Linked DNA regions of Homo sapiens: region 1 is linked to region 2. The links are contacts of gene promoters, found by promoter capture Hi-C in blood cells and fetal thymus (Javierre and others, 2016). All regions are on one chromosome and are shown on one strand. Each heading gives the region's core, a stretch centred on a gene start or on the middle of the fragment in contact. The rest is flanking DNA. Distances are from core to core; before and after follow the strand shown. Region 1 overlaps SLC22A5 (solute carrier family 22 member 5). Region 2 holds the start of CCNI2 (cyclin I family member 2).

The links. Contacts are between HindIII fragments. The CHiCAGO score rates a contact against its expected background, and 5 or more counts as called.
Region 1: a contact is called between a fragment that was not itself captured here and the fragment with the promoter of CCNI2 in region 2, in 5 of 17 cell types (endothelial precursors, activated CD4 T cells, total CD4 T cells and 2 more). The highest score is 7.6, in endothelial precursors.

Annotation. Positions count from the first base shown.
Region 1 is chr5:132,384,409-132,386,908 of GRCh38, reverse strand. SLC22A5 (solute carrier family 22 member 5) reads right to left here. Exons shown (of 10, transcript NM_003060.4): 4 at 1,410-1,581. Among named protein-coding and RNA genes, the nearest start is that of MIR3936HG, 16 kb to the right of the region's middle. RefSeq lists enhancers at 69-278, 419-468, 962-1,291. The HindIII fragment of the contact is 1,929 bases long and covers 286-2,214 here.
Region 2 is chr5:132,745,525-132,751,993 of GRCh38, reverse strand. It overlaps CCNI2 (cyclin I family member 2), which reads right to left and starts at 4,568. Exons shown (of 6, transcript NM_001039780.4): 1 at 4,070-4,568; 2 at 3,519-3,647; 3 at 2,572-2,646; 4 at 997-1,137; 5 at 1-28. The coding sequence starts at 4,498. It overlaps SEPTIN8 (septin 8), which reads left to right. Exons shown (of 10, transcript NM_001098811.2): 10 at 1-1,175. RefSeq lists enhancers at 144-353, 5,006-5,085 and silencers at 4,206-4,395, 4,416-4,485, 4,496-4,915. The HindIII fragment of the contact is 9,894 bases long and covers 3,038-6,469 here.

The DNA.
Region 1 (2,500 bases), core at 1-2,500, 360 kb after region 2:
TTGGTGATCACAAGCCAGAAGCAAAGAGCTGATCCACACGCAGCAATAACCTGGGGTGGATGAGCTTATGTGTACCCCACACCGCACAAAAATGGGAGAGCCCTGCACCCCCTGACGGCATCCCCATGCTGGCTGGCCACCTCCATTTCTGAAGAGCAGTGTTGCCATCTGCTGGGCTGAGGAGATGGGTGCAAGATGGGCTCCGGAAGCCTGGCTTCTGTGCATGTCTATGTCAGCCCAGGCCCTGCTACACTCTCCTCCCTGTCCCCGGCACCAACAGAAGCTTCTGCACTGGCCTTTTAGCTTCTCTTCTCTCCTCACCCTACCCCTGATTTATCCAACAGATTAGTCAGATACTCTACCTAAAATAGCATGTTTGGCCAGGTGCAGTGGTTCACTCCTATAATCCCAGCACTTTAGGAGGCCAAGGCCGGTGGATCATTTGAGGCTAGGAGTTCCAGACCAGCCTGGCCAACGCAGTGAAACCCGTCTCTCCAAAGAAATACAAAAAAAATTAGCCAAGTGTGGTGGCAGGCACCTGTAGTCCCAGCTACTCGGGAGGCTGAGACATGAGAATCGCTTGAACTGGGGAGGCGGAGGTTGCAGTAAGTGGAAATCACGCCACTGCACTACAGCCTGGGCAACAGAGACTTTGTCTGAGAAAAAAAAAAGAAAAAAAAAGAAAAGAAAAAGAAAAGAAAAAAAGGAAAAAAATTAGCATGTTTATCAAGGCACTTGAGTGCTCTATGGATATTATTTTCCACCTTGCTGGGACCAGGTAGCCGCCCCCCACCCTCGGTCATGACTGGGCCCCATGATGTGCGGCTTACTCTCCCACTATGCCCTGAAATGCTCTCTGCTCCACTTGGGCTGGTGATCTCACCTTCTCCACCTGCAAGGGGTGATTCCCACCTTAGCACCTCTGCAGTGTTCCCCTCTTGGTCTGGAATGGCCTCTTCTCTGCCTGTTCAACTCCTCTACCTTGGTGGTGCAGAAGGAGCCTGGCTTCCTCCATGTGGCTACCCTGAGGACTCTTGCTTTTGGTGCCAGTGCCTGTGGCATGAGGCTTCAGCAGCACACAGCCAGAACTAGGGCCTACACTGTCCTGCCCTGAGGCTTGGGAACTTCCTACAGGGCATGCTGGACCCCATCTTCTCACAGCTACTGCTATTTTTCCCCACACTTGGGGCAACCCAGCACAGGGCTGAGAGCAAGTCTGTTGCTGTCATGGGATTCTGTTTTGTTTTGGCTCTTTTGAGTGTGGAGAAAACATTCTGAAATAATTTATAATCTATGCTTCCTGTCTCTGGGAGACAAAATAGGGATTCATGGGTTGTTGCTGCCCTCTAGTGAAGGCCAGACAGAAATCATCCTGCCAGTGGGCACATGGGGCACAAGGTCACACTCACCACCAGAGTGCCACGCATAGCACCCCCGGCATCGTCAGCGCCACCAGCAGCATCCGCCAGTCTCGGATGAAGTAAGCAAACAGTGGCAGCACCATGTAGCCAAATGCATAAAATATGCACACTCCTAACGTAGAGAATATTATACGAACTGACTTGCCAAGAATTTCTGTCCCTGTTCAAAACAAGGGAGGTCGAGTTAGCAGTTTAATTTGGGTTCCTTCCTTATTAATTTTTTATGGTATCTTTGTGAATACACAGACAAGAAAACAGCGAGAACTCTCTCTAAGTTCATGGCGCTAGGGAGCGGATGGCGTTCTGAACCCCTCCTGTCTGACTGTCTCCTGGGGGTACATCCCTGTGGCCTCTCAGGCCCCCAAGCAACAGTTCTCTCTTGAAAATTTCGCCATGTTCTGAAGCCATGTGCTAAAGATGCCATGGTAGGCCCCCTTTAATCCTCACATGAGGAAGAATTTATTAAAAGTGAAGTCATTACTAAGTCAGCACATGCTGACTTAAGCCTCAAGGAAAGAATATTAAATATAAAAAGAAAAAACAACCCTTTCAACAATACAACCCAAGGAACTCAAAGGCCTTATCAGCTAGAGTCAGGTTCCTCCAAACACAGGCCGGCCTGGCAGCTTCTCAGTGACAACAGGCTGGCACATTTGAGACAAAGCCCTGCAGTGTGCACTCTGAATTAAAACCCTGAAGGTGACGAAAGCCCCTTCCTATCAATTTATTCTTGTCCGTAGATATCACCAGCCACAGTGCTCTGCAGACAAGGGGTTCTCTACCTTAGCAAGCTTGCCAGTCACAGCCCCTCCTCCTCCAACCATGCCGCCCTCTTTCTGGGGCTGGCTCAGCCCTGTGCAGTGGCAGGCCCTTTTTGTAAATGGAGGATCTCTGGTGAGTCCTAGTAAATTGACCATCAAGTACTAAGACCAAGGAGCCACAGCCCAGAGGCCAGAAAAGAACTGGAAATCAGAAGTCAGGCCATTGTGCTGCTGGGGACCCCAGGCTGGTCTCATGTCTGGCTCAGTTTCCCTGCCTGTAAGTAAGGTTCACCAGGAAGCTCTGGCTAGTTTTGTTAG
Region 2 (6,469 bases), core at 3,319-5,818:
GCCAGCTCAGGACCACCAGGGCATGGAACTGGAGACCATGGTTTTTAATGTTAGAACAGAAAACGCCATACTTTTCCTATATCAATGATCAAAAGTGCAAACAATTTAAATTTCCATCAGGGAACATCAAATGTTGCCCAACCCTTTTCATTCCTATCCATGGCTCCGTAAGGGGCTTGAGGCTTAATGCCCATCCTGTGGCCAAGCTGAGCTTCCACTCCGGGACCAAAAAAAAAAAAAAGTCTGCTTTGTGACATCATCGTTATGAGCGGAAAGTACCTAGATGACAATGTTTCCATTCTGAAAAATAGAAACATACTATTCAAGACCAAGGTAGCAGAAAAGTTACTTGTATCTGCTTATCATAAGACGAAACTCTGCAACTTGGCAACGGTGGCCAGTTTTCGTAATGAAACAGTCTTTAGTAATTTAATCTTCATGCTTCATAACAAACCAAAACCCCATGAGATTTCCACATTGCATAATTTTGCCTTACTAACAGAATCATATCCTTAAGGATGACCATCATTCCCCCAACTAAAACAAATACAAACTAATGTATGATATTTTTTTAAGTGCCAGATCAATATGGTCTAAAGCTTCAATAAGGATTGTGTGTAGGTGAATAAAGACAGCTAAGTGAATGTGTGTAAAGTGTAGCAAAAGCAGACAGATATTTATGTACAGTATTCATAGAATGGAAAGTTAAATATTTTTGCAGTGTGTATTTAAAAGAGAAACTCACCATAATAGTGCCGTCTAAAAATCTTTGTAAAGTTAATTTAATGTCCTTTAGAAGTGGGAGTCTGGTGGAACTGTGTTGGATTTAAGATACCTTTTCACTCTTCCGTATGTCATGAGCCTTGTGCGTCACCTCACTGTGGTGCATGTGCAAGGGCGTGTGCACGCCTGTGCTTTGCCATCCCATGTTGTAAACAGCTGTTCCAAAGGCACAAACGAGTTTAGGGTAGACTCTGTAAACACCTCCTTACTCACTATAGTCAAGAAGTCCAGCGGCGTCCCAATATAGAGGTCCCAGTGCAGTCTGTCCAGAATAGCCAGCTCCATCCTCAGCAGCTCATTCGGGGAATAGTCAGAGCCATAGTGCTTTGTGAAGTCTTTTACTTGTGGAATAAACTGTAAAAAGAAAATAAAGAGGCCAAAGCCCTACATCATGTCATAGTAGCTTTTGTTTTCTTACCCATGGGGACTGGGCATTCATGACCTTAGTGGAGTTGTCTTCCTGTGGCCTGCCACAGAAAATGCTTCTGAAAGAAATACTAAACCAGATCTTGGCTATCTGTCAAATCCTCAGGTAGTTATGTAGTGAACATCACATGGTCCCCCTCTGAAACCGGGTCTTGATCCCCCAGCTGCATGCTAGCTCATACCCAAAGGTGCTTTGGAGGCTGGGGCTGTGCCATCTCCCCTGTTCAGCTGCAAGAACTCACCCCAAGCTTTCCAGGAGCCATGGGTTCTGCCTCTCCCTATTCCTGATCCCTACCGTGGGTACTGGGCATAGAGAAAAAAACTATGCTTTTGAGCTTCCTAGTCTGTACCAGACACATTGATAAAACCTCCTATGGGTTTTTTAGCATCGCAACTGCAAACACATTTCCTTCAACCTTGATTGAAGGTGGTTCAGTTCTGGAAAAACTATGGCTTTTCCCACAGAGGGACTAATGAGGCTTGTCTATGAGTAAACATTTGAGTACCAAGTACATTAAAGGCTTGATCCTATGTTTTTAGATAAACAGAAGTATTACTATAACCTCCAGAAAAAGGGTCACTTGATTTTTAGTTGGACAAAAGCAACTTGGGCATTAATTCTATTCTAATAAACAGGAGTTTAAAACATTTTTATTGAAGGTTTGGAACTGGACACACAACTTCTTCCCTGCCTCCTCAGACCCAGAGATCAGCTAAGGGTGACCCCCGTGGCAATGGCAGTGATTTCACCATCCCCAAACTGGGAGAAGTTGGAGGGAGGTAGGAAAGCTTGGAAAGGGTATTAGGAGATGATCTCCTCCTGAACAGATGCCACAGTGAAATTCAGCCATCCAGCCATGCCTGAAATGCTCATGGGCCCCTTGTACTTTACCCCCAGCACATGGCCCTCCTGTCCCTCTCAGGGGTCCCAGAGTTCCCAAGGACCAGCTTCATTGACACAGCCAAGTCCTCAAGTCTCAAGCAGCTTTCTTAGACATAATTGCTTGGGGTGGATGTTAAGTCACATGGTTTGGGAGGCCTTTTTCCTTGCTCAACAGCAGATGCCCCTGTTTAGAGAGAGGTAGCATCTGTCATCAACCAGTGAGGCCAGATGTATCTGTCAAGAGTTCAGGTCTCTAGGTTTGGTGGGCCAGGACAGTTCAGCTGCTCTACTTGTTCATTTGTGGGGTCTCAAAGCCTGACAAGCCGATGGAAGGGATAGCAGAGATGCCGGCAAGTTGGTGACTTTTTCAAAACATCCACCATACCTAAGGGCACAGACCTATCAGGAAACTGGAGTCCTCCAATGTTACACCCCTATACCTCAAGTGCAGCCCAGTGTGGACTTCCAAGGATGCATACCTCCTCTTCTTCATTAACTTTTGCAGCGAGCCTCAAGGAAGTAATTGTGGCGCAATGCAGGTATTTCTCTTTTACCTGCAGTATGGAACAAACACATTTGAGCAGAATATGAATGCCAGAAACAAACTGAAAAGCATCTGTGTTTGTTTTCTTTTATACACTTTTTTGACATGGAGTCTCACTCTGTTGCCCAGGCTGGAGTGCAGTGGCATGATCTTGGCTCACTGCAACCTCCACCTCCTGATTTTGAGCGATTCTCCTGTCACAGCCTCCTGAGTAGCTAGGACTATAGGGGCGGGCCACCACACCTGGCTAATTTTTGTATTTTTAGTAGAGACAGGGTTTCACCATGCTGGCCAGGATGGTCTCCAACTCCTGACCTCAAGTGATCCACACCCCTTGGCCTCCCAAATTGCTGGGATTACAGGCGTGAGCCATTGCGCCCAGCCGTTTGTTTTAATAAGCTTTTTTTTCCCATTTTTAAAAGGCTCAATTTCTCCACAAGACAGAATGTTAGTGCCGTTTTTAGATCTGACCAACGAAGATGCTCCTGATTTCAGAACTGCAGATGACTGGGCAGTATTCCTTCATTTCGGGACTGACTGGAGGTGGGAAATATGGCACCTTCTCAGGGAACCCAGTCTCATCCTAGCCTCAAGCTGCCCTCGACAGGTCGAGACAAGCACATCCTACCTCATTACACAGGAAGCCCTTTCCCAGCTAGGTCCTCTCACGCTCCCCAAGTCCAATCCTGATGACTACATGACCCTGAGACAGCCAGTGTAGGATGTGGAGAGGTTCCAACACCAGCTCTTCCACTCGGAGCAAGTTAGTTTATACACCTTGGTTTTGAGCATCTGGAAACCCTCACCTCTCAAGCAGGAATGGGGAGCAAAGGTTAGTTTCTTCTCTCACCATCTGCCACCGTCCCTCAGAGGCCTCCCTACCTTCACTGAAATCAGGAGGCGGCCAAAGATGGTGAGGGCCAGGTTAAAAGTGGACTGGGAGAAGTAAAAGGTGTTCTGAAGCCGCAGGAGCCACAGCACGACTTCCTCGAAGGCGTCGCAGATTTCATCCTGCTAGGAAGAAGAGCAGGTGGGGCGAGGAAGGTCGCTAGCGGCCACTCCTGGTCCCCCAGCAGCAGGAGCCTCCTGCTTAAGGTGCGGGGGGTGGGGCAGTGAGAAGTCCCTTCCTCTGCATGCCCGCTGGGAGTAAGCGCCCCCCGGCGCAGCGGCTCACCCATCACCCCCACCCCTCGCGCCCACTTTTCGTCGTAGGCTGAGTTCCTTGATTCAAACAGGCCCTCTTCCGAAGGCCCTGCTAGCAAGACGCCCTCCTAGAGAGAAGCTGGTGGATCCAGCCTCGTGCCTCTCGTGAGGGGCCACACCTGGGGAAGGGCCCGGCCTCCAGTTTCAGAACACCCGAGCGCGGGTGCAGGTGGAGGCCACATCCGCCTGCCGTGCACGCGCGAGGAGGGCCACGCGGCAGCGACGGGTACCTGGGGTTTGCCGCCCCGCCACAGGCGCGCCTCGCGGTCCTGGGCCAGCTGCAAGTGGCAGAGCAGCCGGCGCTCGTCCAGGTCGCCTTCCAGGTTGCGCGGCTTGCGGGACTGTGGAGCCGGCCGCGGAGCTTGCTCTGGGGCGGCGGCGGGGACCGCGTCTGCGGTTTTCCCGGCTGGCGCCGTACCGCGCCGGGGCCGCACGGGGACTGCTGCGGACGCCGCGTGGAGGGAGGCCGCTCCGGGCTGGCGGGTCCCAGGGCACCTGCTCCGGTTGCTTCGGGGCAGAGGGGCCTCCCCCGGAGACGGCGGGAGAGGAACGCCCAGGGCTGTTTCCTCCAGACCGGCGCCGGGACGCCCGCCTGGGCTCTGGACGGCGCTGACCTCTGAGCTCGACGGCTGCGGCGGGAGCTGAGCGCCCGAGGCCATGTCGTGAGCGGGATCCTGAGTCTGAGTTGCCGCTTAACCCGGCATTTTATAACCCAGCTCCCGGAACACTGCAGCCTGGGGCGCCGCCGGGGGAGGTGGGGAGGCGGGCTCGGCGGGCCCCACCCACAACGCTCGCGGTGGAGCTACCTCTGGCGCACCGGGCCGCGCCTCGCCTCCTGGGCACTCGCCCCGCGGGTGGGCGGCGCGCACCCAGGATGCGGCAGGACTGGGCGCGCACAGGCGGGTGGCGGACCCCCTCCCTTCCCTCCATCCCCGCTGCTGCCTAGCGCACGCCTCCTCCCCCCTGCCGGCCGTGCTCCCTGAGCAGAGCCCCCAGCCAGGGGTGGGGCGGCTGGAGACTGCGCCCGCCTTGGGCCAGGACTCCCGGACACAGACCCTGGGTCTTACCTCACATTACACACTTGGGGACACAAGACCAGGTAAAGAAGCAGCGAGAGCGCCCTCCTCAGACAGGCTTGAAATGGAATTCCAGACGCGCTGTGTGATCTCATGCATGTGTCGTGACCTCTCAGAGCCTTGGCTACCTCTTCTCCGAAAAAAAAAGTGATAATACCTCCCTCACAAGGTGATTCATTCATATACATATATGTTTATGTATCTATACATACATATATAGCTATAAACGTATAATAAGGAAAATCATACAAATCATATATATGTATACACATACATACATAAATTTTAGGGGTGGATCTTGCTATGTTGCCCAAGCTGGAGTGCAGTGGCTATTCTCAGGTGTGATCGCAGCACACTACAACCTCAAACTCCTGGACTCAAGCTACCCTCAACCTCAGCTTCTCAAGTAGCTGAGACTTACAGGTGCACACCACCACACCTGGCTCCTAAGTTATATTTTGTTTAAAAAATTCATTACATTAAATGTATATTAAAAATATATGGGAATACCAGAAGGACAAGAAAGAGAGGAACAGAAGAAATATTTGAAACAATAACGACTGAGAATGAATATTTCCAAATTAATGCCAAACACCAAACCACAATTCTAGGAAGCTCTGAGAACATTAAGCAAGATAAATGCCAAGAACTACACCTAGACATTCCTATTTAAACCGTAGAAAATCAAAAGAAACTATCAACAGAGTCAGCAGACAACCTATAGAGTGGGAGAAAAGTATTAGCAAAGTAAGCATTCGACAAAGGTCTTAATATCCAGAATCTGTAAGGAATTTAATTAAACAAGCAAAAAACAACCCCATCAAAAAACAGGCAAAAAGACATGAATAGACTTCTCAAAGGGAGATATACAAGTGGTCAACAAACATGAAAAAATGCTCCACATCACTAATCATCAGAGTAATGCATCTCACACCAATCAGAATGGCTACTATTAAAAAGTCAAAAACCAACAGACGCTGGTGAGGCTGCAGGGAAAAGGGAATGCTTATACACTGCTGGTGGTAATGTAAATTAGTTCAGTCACTGTTGAAAGCAGTTTAGAGATTTCTCAAACAACTTAAAACAGTACTATTCAACCCAGCAGTCCCTTTACTGGGTATATACGCAAAAGGAAAATAAATTGTTCTACCATAAAGACACATACATTTGCATGTTCATCACAGTACTAGTCACAGTAGCAAAGACATGGAGTCAACCTAGGTGCCCTTCAGTGATCGACTGGATAAAGAAAATGTGGTACATATACAATATGGAATACTATGTAGTCATTAAAAAGAATGAAATCATGTCCTTTGTAGCAAACATGGATGAAGTTGGAAGCTATTATTCCAAGCAAATGAACACAGGAACAGAAAATTATATACTACATGCTCTCACTTTTAAGCGAGCATTGAGTACACATGGACGTAAAGATGGCAACAGTAGACACTGGAGGCTACCAGAGCGGGGAGGGAAGGAGGGGACAAGGGTTGGATAACTATGGGGTACTGTGCTCAGTACCTGGGTGACAGGATCATTCATACCCCAAATATC